2 separate regions of the Homo sapiens genome follow, and region 1 is linked to region 2. The links are contacts of gene promoters, found by promoter capture Hi-C in human tissues and cell types (Jung and others, 2019). All regions are on one chromosome and are shown on one strand. The core of a region is centred on a gene start or on the middle of the fragment in contact, and the rest is flanking DNA. Distances in the headings are between cores, read along the strand shown.

Evidence for each region. Contacts are between HindIII fragments. The study calls those that stand out against the background at their distance.
Region 1: a fragment that was not itself captured here is called in contact with the fragment with the promoter of ARGFX in region 2 in 1 of the 25 tissues and cell types used here (lymphoblastoid cells).

Annotation. Positions count from the first base shown.
Region 1 is chr3:122,265,387-122,271,780 of GRCh38, reverse strand. All of the region lies in intron 4 of CASR (calcium sensing receptor), which reads right to left. Among named protein-coding and RNA genes, the nearest start is that of CSTA, 57 kb to the left of the region's middle. The HindIII fragment of the contact is 7,327 bases long and covers 1,409-6,394 here.
Region 2 is chr3:121,563,386-121,569,812 of GRCh38, reverse strand. It overlaps ARGFX (arginine-fifty homeobox), which reads right to left and starts at 1,864. Exons shown (of 5, transcript NM_001012659.2): 1 at 1,800-1,864. The HindIII fragment of the contact is 19,771 bases long and covers 1-6,427 here.

The DNA of each region.
Region 1 (6,394 bases), core at 3,823-6,322, 700 kb before region 2:
TAAGACTGGGGCTTTGGGGGCCTAGGGAGTGACAGTTAGAGGATATGAGGTTGCTTTTTGATGTGGTGAAAATGTTCTAAAATTGACTGTGGTTATGGTTGCATAACTGTGAATGTATTAAAAGCCACTTAATTGTATACTTTAAATGACTGAATTGTATGGCATGTGAATTACATCTTATAAAGCTGTTGCAAAAAAGAAGGCATGGAAAAGGACTTTAAAAATCCAAATATGAATTAATTAGTGAAACCGACATTTGTAGTTGGCAGGATCCTTGATAACAAGGTAGCCTCTAGGATACTTGGTGTAGCGAGTTGAGTAATGAGACATGGCAAGTCCAACTTCGGATGTGGCAGGGAGATAAAGAGTAGGCAGGAGGGAAGAGATGGCAATGTAAACATCTTATCTGGAGAAGGAAGCACTCTGGAATCTTTGTGGCTAGGAATGTTGTACCCACACTTCATTAGACCAAACTTCTCTAAAGCAGGAACTGCCTTATTTCCTTCTGTATCTCCAGTGGTTTGTAGAGGGCCTAGATTTTAGTGGATACTCAAACCTTGTCTTTTGAGTGCATAATTAATAGAATAGATATTAAACCTGTAGGTGTCCAGCATGACTATGTGGACAAGTCATGCCCATGATGAGGTTTTTATCAGTCTGAGGATAAATGAGAAAAATAAGGTCAATAGGGCATTCGTATTAGCTGAAAGAAGTAGGCAGAAAATCAATACAAATATAAAAGACTTAAAAGACTTGGACAGTACTATCAACCAACTTGATCTAATTGATATTTACAGAACAGTCATCCCAACAACAGAATATACATTATTTTCAAGAACACAAAATATTTATAAAGATAAACCATATTCTGGATTATAAAGCAAGTTTCAATAAATTTAAAAATATTAAAATCAAACAAAATATGTTGACTCCAATGGAATTAAATTAAAAACAAATAACAGAAAAATGTTTGGAAAAATCACTGGAAACTTGGAAACCAAATAACACACTTCTAAACCTGAGAGCCAAAGAAGAAATCAAAAGGAAAGTTGGAACGTATTTTAAATTGAATTAAAATGAAAACACAGCATATCAAAATTTGAGGGATGCAGCTAATAAAATATTTATAGTGAAATTTATAGCAGTAAATGTCTATATTATAAGAAAAGAAAGGTTTTTAAATCAATGACTTCAGTTTCCAAATAAGTAACTACAAAAAGAAGAGCAAATTAAACTGAAATAAATCAGAAGACAGGAGATGACAAAGATCAGAATAGAAATAAATGAAACAGACAACAAAAATATAGAGAAAAATCACTAAAGCCAAAAGCTGATTCTTTGAGAAGATTAATAAAGTTGATGGATCTCTAGCCAGACTGATCAGAAAAAAGGGAGAAGATGCATATTTACAATATGATAAATTCGAGAAGTGACAACACTACAGATGCTGCAGACATTATAATTATAGTCTGAGAACATTGTAAACAATATTATAAATAAACTTATGCCAGTAAATTTGGCAAATTAGACGATGTGGACAAAGTCTTTGAAAGACAAACTATCAAAGCTGACTCATATATACCTAAATAGCATTCTATCCATTAAATAAATTGAATTTTCAGTTCAAAATTTTCCCACAGGCCATGGACAGTGGTTCATGCCTGTAATCCCAGCACTTTGGGAAGCCGAGGTGGGTGGATCACTTGAGGCCAGGAGTTAGAGACGAGCCTGGTCGACATGGTGAAACCCCATCTCTACTAAACATACAAAAATTAGCTGGTGGTGGTGGTGCATGCCTGTAATCCCAGCTACTCGGGAGGCTGAGGCAGAAGAATCTCTTGAACCTGGGAGGCGGAGGTTGCAGTGAGCCAAGATCATGCCACTTTACTCCATCCTGGGTGACAGAGCAAGACTCCATCTCAAAACAAAACAAAACAATCCCACAAAGAAAACCAACTAAAGGTGGCTTCACTGATGAGTGCTGCCAAAGATTTAAGGAAGAATTAATACCAATTCTACAAAAGTCTTACAGAACATCAAAAAAGAAGTCAATACTGCCAAACTCATTCTGAGGTCATCATTACCCAGACACCAAAACCAGACAAAGACATTACAAGAAAATAAAACTTTAGACCAATAGTCCTCATGAACATAGAAGCAAAATTTCTTAACCAAATTTTAGTAAATCAAACACACAAATACATGTACAAAAAGGAATATACATTATGACCAAGTAGGATTAATCCCAGGAACGAAAGGTTGGTTTGATGGTCAACTACAATAACATACTACAAAAGAAAAACCACATGATTTTCTGAATAGATACAGAAAAAGCACTGATGACATCCAACCTCCATTCCTGATAAAAGCTCTCGGCAATATAGGAATAAAAGGGAACTTTCTCAACTCTATAAAGGGCATCTATGAAAGTTAACATCATACTCAGTGGTAAAAGACTGAATGCTTTCCCCCTGATCAGATGCAGACAGTAATGTCTGTCCTCACTATATCTATACAAGATTATACTGGGAGTTCTAACCAGTTCAATTGGGCTGAATCAGGCCGAGTAAGATTGAAAATATGATCTAAATTCTAAACTGAAATAAACAAAAACAAGCAAACAAATAAAAAGGCCAAAATAATTTTTTTAAAGTTGCTTCTTTTCTTCTTTTAGGCATATTTATTAGTACAAATTAGGCTAATAAATTGTTCCTGATAAAGATTCTTAGGAGGCCTACATCAGTTAAAAATACAAGAATAATTTAAAATTTAATGGTTTCTGGATCTTTATGCCTCAATAACCCTGTTTATACTCTTAAAATCCTTACCAAAACATGCTTTCCTTCATGTAATTTACTTTGTTAACAATGCAGAGCTAAGTTCCAGCCCCAGTTTATGAAGTCAGCATTACTGTGGTTTCTTGTGTGAGAGTTTTCTGACCACTTCTCTGAGATCACTGACCTCCCTTATCTGTGCCTGTATCTAGGTACTGTGTTACTGTCCTCCACTGTCCTCTCAGGAGTTATTTTTGTCCCATTTTCTTTCTTTATTCATTTGTTTATTCAACAAGTATTTATTGAGGGACCACTACTGGCCAAGCAGGCACTGTTTTAGAAAGAAGAAATACAGTAATATTCAAGATGGACAGAGATGTCTAATAGACTCCAACCTGGTTGGCTGTGTGCACTCTCAATTATTTGCACACTATACTTTCTCTTTGTGTAAGGACCGAGGTGTCAGGACAATTGTTGAACACCCAGGGTTCAAGGCAGTGGACCAGTGTCTTCACTTGGAAACCACTGGCTGATCTGGCAGCCTCTCAGGAGCTAGAAGGCATGTGGTGCCCAGAGGGCAAAAGTCATTCTTTTAGCAACTCCTTTGGCCTCTTTGGGGAACAGATCACCTGGAGCAGATGTAGCTTTTTTACTAGCTAGATATATTACTTTAGGAAAATCATTCTGACTTCTCTGGGTCTTACCCTCCTCACCTACAAAAGAATAATACTCAAGACTAATATTTACTGCACATAGTATATAGGCACTATCCTAAGCACTCTGTGCATATTAAGTAATGGTATCCTCATAATAAACTTAACAAGTTTCATGATCTCTATTTCTCAGGTGAGAGAGAAAAGTGAGGCACAAGGACACTAAGTGACTGCCCAAGGTCATAAGGCAATTAGGTGGCAATTAAAATTTAAACCAACTCAGTCTGGCTTGAGATTCCAAACTGTTAACCATTACACTATACTACCTACTCACATGCAGGAGTGAAATTAGACATCTATTAAGTTGCCTATCTCTAGTTACAACAGGTTAACTGGTATAAAATGTAGGTTGAGAAAATGGACATATTTTAAAAATGAAATGGTAGAGATGTGTAATGCTTGTGGCAACATGAGGGGCCATAAGTGGGAAAATGGTCTAACCTGAATGACATCCTGATCTCCATGAGTAGCCAGGACTTCCCCACCTGGGGACTTTCCGTTATTTTTTTTATCAACTTTTTTGAGGTATAATTTATATACACTCATTTTAAGTGTATAGTTCTGAATTTGGGCAAATGTATATGCTTGGTAACTACCACTGCCACCTTCCCAAAAGGTTCTGTGGTGTCCCTGAAAGTCAACCTCTACCCACTTGCAGCCTTAGGCCACCACTGATCTGCTTTCTTTCTGTCAGTAGAGACAGAGTATCGCATAAATGAAATCATACACTATGTACTATTTTTTTTTAGTCAGTATTCTTTTGCTTAGCAGGACATTTTGTGACCTTTCCTCCAAGGAGTAGATCCTTCTCCGTATCCACAAATTTTATCTACCCTTCAAGACTCGTCTCAAATGATATTTTTTTTTCCTTACTTCAAATCCTAACCTGAATTGTATTGTACTATGTCCTCACAGCAGGTATATAAATAAAATCACATGAGTGTGGAATATTTTCTACTCAAAATTTGTACGTTATCCACTTATAATCAATAAATTATTATGCTTACCAAGTCATATCTCTAAGTCACCTCTTTAAACATCTTTAATATTTCTTTTGGCAGGCTGACTTGCAAGTTTTGCATTTGGGCGTTTTATTTTCTGCATAATATCTTGCCTTTAATTCACATAACAGGGAAGATGGAGATGAAAACCATTTCACTCCTAAGAGCAATGACAGGGAATCTTTAAATTGATAATGATTGATCCACAAAAAAAGCAACATAAGTTAGAAGATAATTTAGATATCTGCCCGAGAGAGAACACTCTTTTTATTATTTATTTATTTATTTTGAGACGGAGTCTCGCTCTGTTGCCCAGGCTGGAGTGCAGTGGTGCGATCTTGGCTCACTGCAATTTATGCTTTCTAGGTTCAAGCAATTCTCCTGCCTCAGCCTCCTGAGCAGCTGGGACTACAGGTGCCTGCCACCACACCCGGCTAATTTTTTGTATTTTTAGTAGAGACAGGGTTTCACCACGTTACCCAGGCTGGTCTCGAACTTCTGACCTCATGATCCACCCACTGTGGCCTCCCAAAGTGTTGAGACTATAGGTGTGAGCCACTGCCCCTGGCTTCTTTTGCTTTTAAAAAGGAACTGACAGTTCCTTTTAAAATGAAATATAAAATTTTACTTGAGATTATTATCCAATATTATATGCTTCCAAATTATTTATTTTATTTGGGGAGTAATATGAGGAAAAAGAATAAACGAAGGGGAAGAGAAACAAAAAAAGCTAGTAGAAAGATCCAAACATAGGAGTACTGCTTGAACCTGGGAGGCGGAGTTTGCAGTGAGCCAAGATCGGGCCGCTGCATTCCAGCCTGGGTGACAGAGCAAGACTCTGCCTCAAAAAAACAAAACACAAACAAACAAAAAGATCTGAACATAGAACATAACATACAGACACAAAGAGACTTACAGGCTCACAAAGAAAACACCACCAAGAAAGACACATAGATCTAAAAGAGGGGCAAATACAGGACATGCATGCACTTAGAAGCTAACATACTCTTTTATGCCATAATATTCCCATCTTGTGGTCTTTTAGGGTATTTCCCCTAAAAGATTTTAAAGTCAAACGGTTGCTCATTATAAGCATAAATGGAAATCACCTCTTGGCACACATTCTTAGTAGCGTCAATTGAATTAAACTGAACATTAGAGACTAGAAACCCCCCCACTCTGGTCTAGGACTTCCAGCTCTTATACAGATAATGAGGGCCAGGTCACACAGATAATGAACAAGATAATGAAGTTCATTATCTTGCCCAGTTCCTGTGGTAAGAGCATGGGGAAGATCCAGGCCCAATTCCCTTCTCTAACGCCAGCCATGTTTTCTTATCTCCCTTCCATCTTCTCTGGCTGTCCTCACAATTTATCCCCCATTCCCCAACTTCCAGCAGTACCAGGAATTCCTAGAAAGATCAGCTCCATCTGACTTCCATCTTCACCATGGCTGCACGCCTGTTTTCTGACTAGTGAGTGTTGGTGTGAGGTGCAGGAGAGTAGGAAGCACACCTTGTGCATGATCATCCTGAGAGAAGAAAGAAGGTGATTTCATACTTACATGATGTTCCACTCAAACTTGATAGTGGGCACGTGACCAAAGCTTGTCCAAACAGAGCCTAGAATACCTTGGCCACAGTGATTGATTCAAGAATGGGTTGTTGGCTCAAACGGTTCCCTGCAAAGGCCTATAGGTAGTGTTGACAGGTCAAATCAACTAGACTGCTATTCACTCATTCATTCATTCAATGAATATTCCAGCGACAGGCATTCTGAACATAGTACTGAACAATACAGGCATGGTTCTGGATCTTATGAAGCTTAGAGTACAGCAAAGGAGTAGTGAAGAGAGAGCTGGGAAGGGATGTGAGGAGGGCTTGGGGGTCTCCAAGAAGAGGTCAGG
Region 2 (6,427 bases), core at 615-3,114:
AAACCAATATTTTGCAAATGACCAGTATGTAATGTTACAAAATCCTGCATGGGTAAAAGATCCACTCAAAGTTCAATGTAGACCAATGGATTTTAATGTCACAGAATTTGGAAAGTTCATTCATATGATTTCAAATTTCACATTGCAGGACGGGCATGGTGGCTCACGCCTGTAATCTCAGCACTTTGAAAGGCCGAGGAGGGTGAATTACTTGAGGTCAGGAGTTTGAGACCAGCCTGACCAACATGGTAAAGCCCCATCTCTACTAAGAATACGAAAATTAGCTGGGCGTGGTGGCACGCACCTGTAGTCCCAGCTACTAGGGAGGCTGAGGCAGAAGAATCGCTTGAACCCAGGAGGCAGAGGTTGCAGTGAGCTGAGATCATGTCACTGCACTCCAGCCTGGGCGACAGAGCAAGACTCCGTCTCAAAAAAAAAAAAAAAAAAAAAGTTTTCACATTGCAACTCATCTTTAAGAAACTGCTACTTGTTGAGTTTGTGTTGTAATTTCAAAGAATATCCACAATTATTTCAAAGGCTACAAGAATACTCCTTTTTCTAGCATCATATCTGTATGAGGTCAGATTTTCTTCTTACACTTCAATAGAGTAATGCATCAGAAAAGGTGACTGCAAAAGCAGGAGAGAATTCTGCCATCTTCCATTAAGCCCTAAAGTACTAAAATGTAAAACAATGCCATTGGTCTCACAATTTTTTTTTGTGTGTGGAAAATATAGTTAACACGTCACGCATTTATCATTTTATTTTGAAAGGAATGAATAAATATATTTTAATCTCAGTTTTCACTTTGAATATGGTAAATATCTAGGTATATCCTATAGAAACAAAAGTTCTTTGGAGTCCTTAACAATTTTTAAGAATATAAAGAGGTTCTGAGACCAAAAAATTGGAACAGCAATAACAACAGATGGCCTAAGGCTTAGCATTTAATTGAAAAGAAATTAAACTTCACTAAGCATCTGTTCTTCAGTACAATCCTAAGAGTAAATAAATGATGCAGTAACATTCAGTAGCAACATTAGGATACCGTCAGACATCCAAGTGCTTCATATACATGATTCATGTGATCCTCGACAAACACATGGGGTAATGGACAATTATTATCAACCTCTTAAAGATGAAGAGACATGAGATCTAAAAGTTTGGCCAGGTAGAGAAGAAGCATAGCTGGGAATGAATCAGGTCTTACTGACTCTTGTACACACAGTCTAAACCCTGGCCCACTTTCCTGGGATGGGCATTGAGAGTCTGTAGCTTAAACTAGCATATTAAAGAAACAAAGAAGCAAACGATTCAACTGGTCTACAGTGCTTTCCCTGATCGAGGCTATCAAGAGCATAAGGCAGAATTGCCACTAGCAGAACCACATTTACTCAGCAATTTTTTATTGCCTTCTTCCTACAAATGGGCACTTACATAGGTCTGTGGATTCTGCAATGAACGAAGTACACAAAAATAGTTGCTATGATGGAGTTTACATTCTAATTAAGGATTTCCAAAGGCCTGGCTAACACAGATGGAGAAAGTTTGGGAGCCCTGCAGAACTGACAACCACACTCAGTAAGTAAGGAGTCTCACATTCACTCCCTGATTTTCATGAGGTGAACAGTCAGTCTTTCTGACCTTCCTTCTGTCCCCAACCATCTATATCATGTCCCTCTAATGTGAATGGGCTGAGTGGTTTGCATCCTTTAATATTGCTCCTTTGATTTTTCAAATCCTCTTTGAGCACTTAAAGCCCCACATTCTGGCTACCCTCCCCGCTCCCCCATGCTTACCTGTCACGAATCCCCTTAGAGTAACCATTTTCAGTCCTACGTGGTGTGTCTCTCTCTGGAAATGCAGTTTCCTTAGTGTGTCCTCATGCAGAAGACCCTGTATTTAAATGTAATTTTTATACAATCAGACCTCCTCCTGCCCCTGCACCACCCAGACACACCCTGATGTCCCACCCTTCATTCATTCATTTGTTCATTCAATATAAGTATGCTTAGAGCATAGTGTAACTGTTGCTGAAAATAGTAATTATTCTTTTTTTATACTCAAACTTCCTACCTTTGACAACCCTTCAAGGCGACTCCTGTGCTTTTTGATGCAACCACCTTTTTACTTTTACACTTGCGTTGTTCAAAGTTTTAGGTGTAAAATTCCTCTAGGCGTGGTAACACACGCCTGTGGTCTGAGTTATTCGGGAGGCTGAGGTGGAAGGATCACTTGGGCCTGGGAGGTTGAGGCTGCAGTGAGCCCTAATTGCACCAGTCTACTCCAGTCTGGGCAACAGAGCGAGACAGCAAGACCCTATCTCAAAAAAATAAAAGTAAAGTTTTAGGAGTGTATCTTTAAAATAGTGATCTGATCTAAGAATTTTCTTATGGAATAATCCATTTATGTTTGATAGGATAAGAACACAGTAATCCCACCTTATCCACAGTTTTGCTTTCTGTGGTTTCAGTCAACTGCCACCCAAAAATATTAAATGGAAACTTCCATAAATAAAAAATGTGTTAGTTTTCATTTCTTTTCTTTTCTTTTTGAGACGGAGTTTCACTCTTGTTGCCCAGGCTGGAGTGCAATGGCATCATCTCGGCTCACTGCAATATCCACCTCCCCGGTTCAAGCGATTCTCCTGCCTCAGCCTCCCAAGTAGCTACGATTAGAGGCATGTGCAACCCACCAGCTGTTTTTGTATTTTTTTTAGTAGAGACGGGGTTTCACCATGTTGATCAGGCTGTCTTGAACTTCTGACCTCAAGTGATCCGCCCGCCTTGGCCTCCCAGAGTGCTGGGATTACAGGCGTAAGCCACCGTGTCCAGCCCTTTTTTTTTAAATGCTCAAATTTTAAATTGGCTGTACTGCTCCGCCCAGGATGTGAATCATCCCTTTGTCCAGTGTATCCATGCTGTATAAGCTACCTGGCCTATACAATGCAGTCGTATAGGAAGAAACCGAGGATCCTGGAATGTATCCCCATGGATAATGGGGGGATCACTACTTATTTCTACCTAATTTCTTACAATCTTTGTGTGTTTTTAACTTTTCCAGCCTTCTGTTAGAATGGTTGCCTTTTATTTTCTCCCCCTCTCAAATGGTATGTAAGTTATATGCAAGATTTAAAGTTACATTATTTTTATTTCTTTATTCTTTGTTTAGAGATGGTATTCACTCTGTCACCCAAGCTGGACTGCAGTGGTGCCATCATGGCTCACTGCAGCCTTGACCTCCTGGGCTAGAATGATTCTCTCACTTCAGCCTCCCCAGTAGCTGGGACTACAGATATGCACCACCACCCCCAGCTAATTAAAAAAAATTTTTTTTTGTAAAGATGGGGTGTTGCTAGGTTGCCCAGGCTGGTCTAGAACTCCTGGGCCCAAGTGATCCTCCTGCCTTGGCCCCCCAAAATGCTGGGATTACAGGCATGAATCACTACGTCCAGCCTAAGTTTGCTTTTATGTTCCTAAAAGTGGTCATTATTATTTTTGTCATAAATATTTATTTAGATTTAACCATATGTTTATCAAGTACTTTGATCATCATTGCTTCTTTCATCCTCTTTCTTTTGGGCACAGTTTTATTTTTTCTGATGTAGAATCAAAAATAGTTCTTTTAACTGTAAACATTTTCAAACTTTCTTTGTCTAAAATATCTTTATTACGTTATCATTCTTGCATAATAGGTTAGGTGAGTACAGAAGCCATTTATTTGAGAAGTCTGCTAACATCCAAACTTTTATTCCTTTGCAGGTAATTGTTCTCTACTCTCTAGTTGCTTTTATTTTATTTTATTTTATTTTTCTAAGATGGAGTCTTGCTCTGTCACCCAGGCTGGAGTGCAGTGGCACAATCTCGGCTCACTGCAACCTCTGCCTCCCAGGTTCAAGCAATTCTCCTGCCTCAGCCTCCTGACTAGCTGAGATTACAGGCGCTAGCCACCATGTCCCAGCTATATATATACACACATATATATACACATATATATATATATATGTGTGTATATATATATATACACAAAATACAAAAAATACATATATATATACACACATATATATGTGTGTGTGTATATATATATATATATATATGTATTTTTTGTATTTTTTTAGTAGAGACGGGGTTTTACCATGTTGGCCAGGCTGGCCTCAAACTACTGATCTCGTGATCCGCCTGCCACGGCCTCCTAAAGTGCTGAGATTATAGGCATGAGCCACTGTGCCTGGCCTCTAGTTGCTTTTAAAAGATGTGCACTTTGTCCAGAGTGTCTCAGCCTCCCGAATAGCTGGGAGGCATACAGGCGCCCGCCACCGTGCCCAGCTAATTTTAGTATTTTTAGTAGAGACAGGGTTTCAGCATATTGGTCAGGCTGGTCTCAAACTCCTGACCTCAAGTGATCCTCCCATCTTGGCCTCCCAAAGTGTTGGAATTACAGGCGTGAGCCACCATGCCCAGCCTCTCCTGAACTTTCAGAGCTGCAGCTTGTTTAGCCATAATGCCAGAGTCTGATATGTATCTTTTATCACTGTGGCTGATACTTTTTCTTGACGTTAAATTTTGTTTTTTCTGTAGTACTGTGCCCACTCAGCCCTGCCACCATCTCCCTCAAAATGACTGGTCTTACTTATTCATCTGTTTATTTGTTTTTTAAATTTATTCATTCATTGATGACTTATTAATTGAGCACCTACTGGTAACAAGCACTATTCTGGGACTAAGCAGAGTGGAAGGGGTCTCCAATTATGACTATAACACAGTTGTCTCTTGCTTCCCACTTTGGTAGTACTATCAGCTTGCTAGCCTACACTTCTCTGGACCAGGGAGGGGGCTCTGACCCTTGATCCTTCCTGCTGCTCTGCCAGCTGGCCCAGAGGGCACAAGTCTTAGACTAATGTATCAGATCTAGAAACAAAACATGAAAGCTGTTGATCTGCATCCTACCAAAGAAAGAAGATTCACTCTTGTTGCCCAGGCTGGAGTGCAATAGCGTGATCTAGGCTCGCTGCAACCTCCCGGTTCAAGCGATTCTTCTGCCTCAGCCTCCCTAGTAGCTGGGACTACAGGCGCCTGCCACCACGCCTGGCTAATTTTTGTATTTTTAGTAGAGATGGGGTTTACCACGTTGACCAGGCTGGTCTTGAACTCCCGATCTCAGGTGATCCGCCCCCCTCAGCCTCCCAAAGTGCTGGGAATTACAGGCATGAGCCACCGCGCCCAGCAATGCCTAAATCTTTTGGCATTAAAAGATTTAGTCATTTTTGGCCGGGCATGGTGGCTCACGCCTGTAATCCCAGCACTTTGGGACGCTGAGGCGGGCAGATCACGAGGTCAGGAGATCGACACCATCCTGGCCAACATGGTGAAACCCCGTCTCTACTAAATACAAAAAATTAGCCGGGCGTGGTGGTGGGCGCCTATAGTCCCAGCTACTCGGGAGGCTGAGGCAGGGGAATCGCTTGAACCTGGGAGGCGGAGGTTGCAGTGAGCCGAGATTGTGCCACTGCACTCCAGCCTGGTGACAAAGTGAGACTCTGTCTCAAAAAAAAAAAAAAAAAAAAAAAAAGATTTAGGCATTAAAGGATTGATCCAAGAAATGGGACAATAATTGACAGATGTTGCAGAAAGAGCTAACACAGTAGCTACAGAGAAACCTCACAATTTAACCCAATATCTGTCTCAAAATCTCTATCTTATTCTTTTCAGCAGTATCTCACTCCTTTTTTTTTTTTTTATGAGACAGGTCTCCCCTGAAGACACTGCTGGTGTGATCATAGCTCACTGCAGCCTCAAACTCCAGTGCTCAAGTAATCCTCAAGTAAGCCTCTTGAGTAGCTGGGACTACAGATGCATGACACCACACCTATTATTATTATTATTATTATTATTATTATTATTATTATTATTTTGTAGAGATGGGATTTCCCTATGTTGCTTAGGCTTGGCTTCAAGAGATACTCCCAGGCTGGGCACGGTGGCTCATGCCTGTAATCCCAGTACTTTGGGAGGCCGAGGCGGGTGGATCATCTGAGGTTGGGTTTCAAGACCAGCCTGTCCAACATGGCAAAACCCCATCTCTACTAAAAATATGAAAATTAGCCAGGCCCAGTGGTGCGTGCCTGTAGTCCCAGCTAATACTACTCGGGAGGTGGAGGTGGGAGAATCGCTTGAACCAGGGAGGCAGAGGTTGCAGTGAGCCAAGATCAGGCCACTGAACTCCATCCTGGGCAAGGGACTGAGACTCCATGTCAAAAAAGAAAAGAGAGAGATGATCCTCCCACCTCAGCCACCCAAAGTGCTGGGATTATAGGCATGAGCCATCGTGTCCAGCCAACTTTCATTTATTTATGCATTTTTGAGACAGGATCTTGCTCTGTTGACCAGGCTGGAGTGCAGTGGCATGATCATAGCTCACTGCAGCCTTG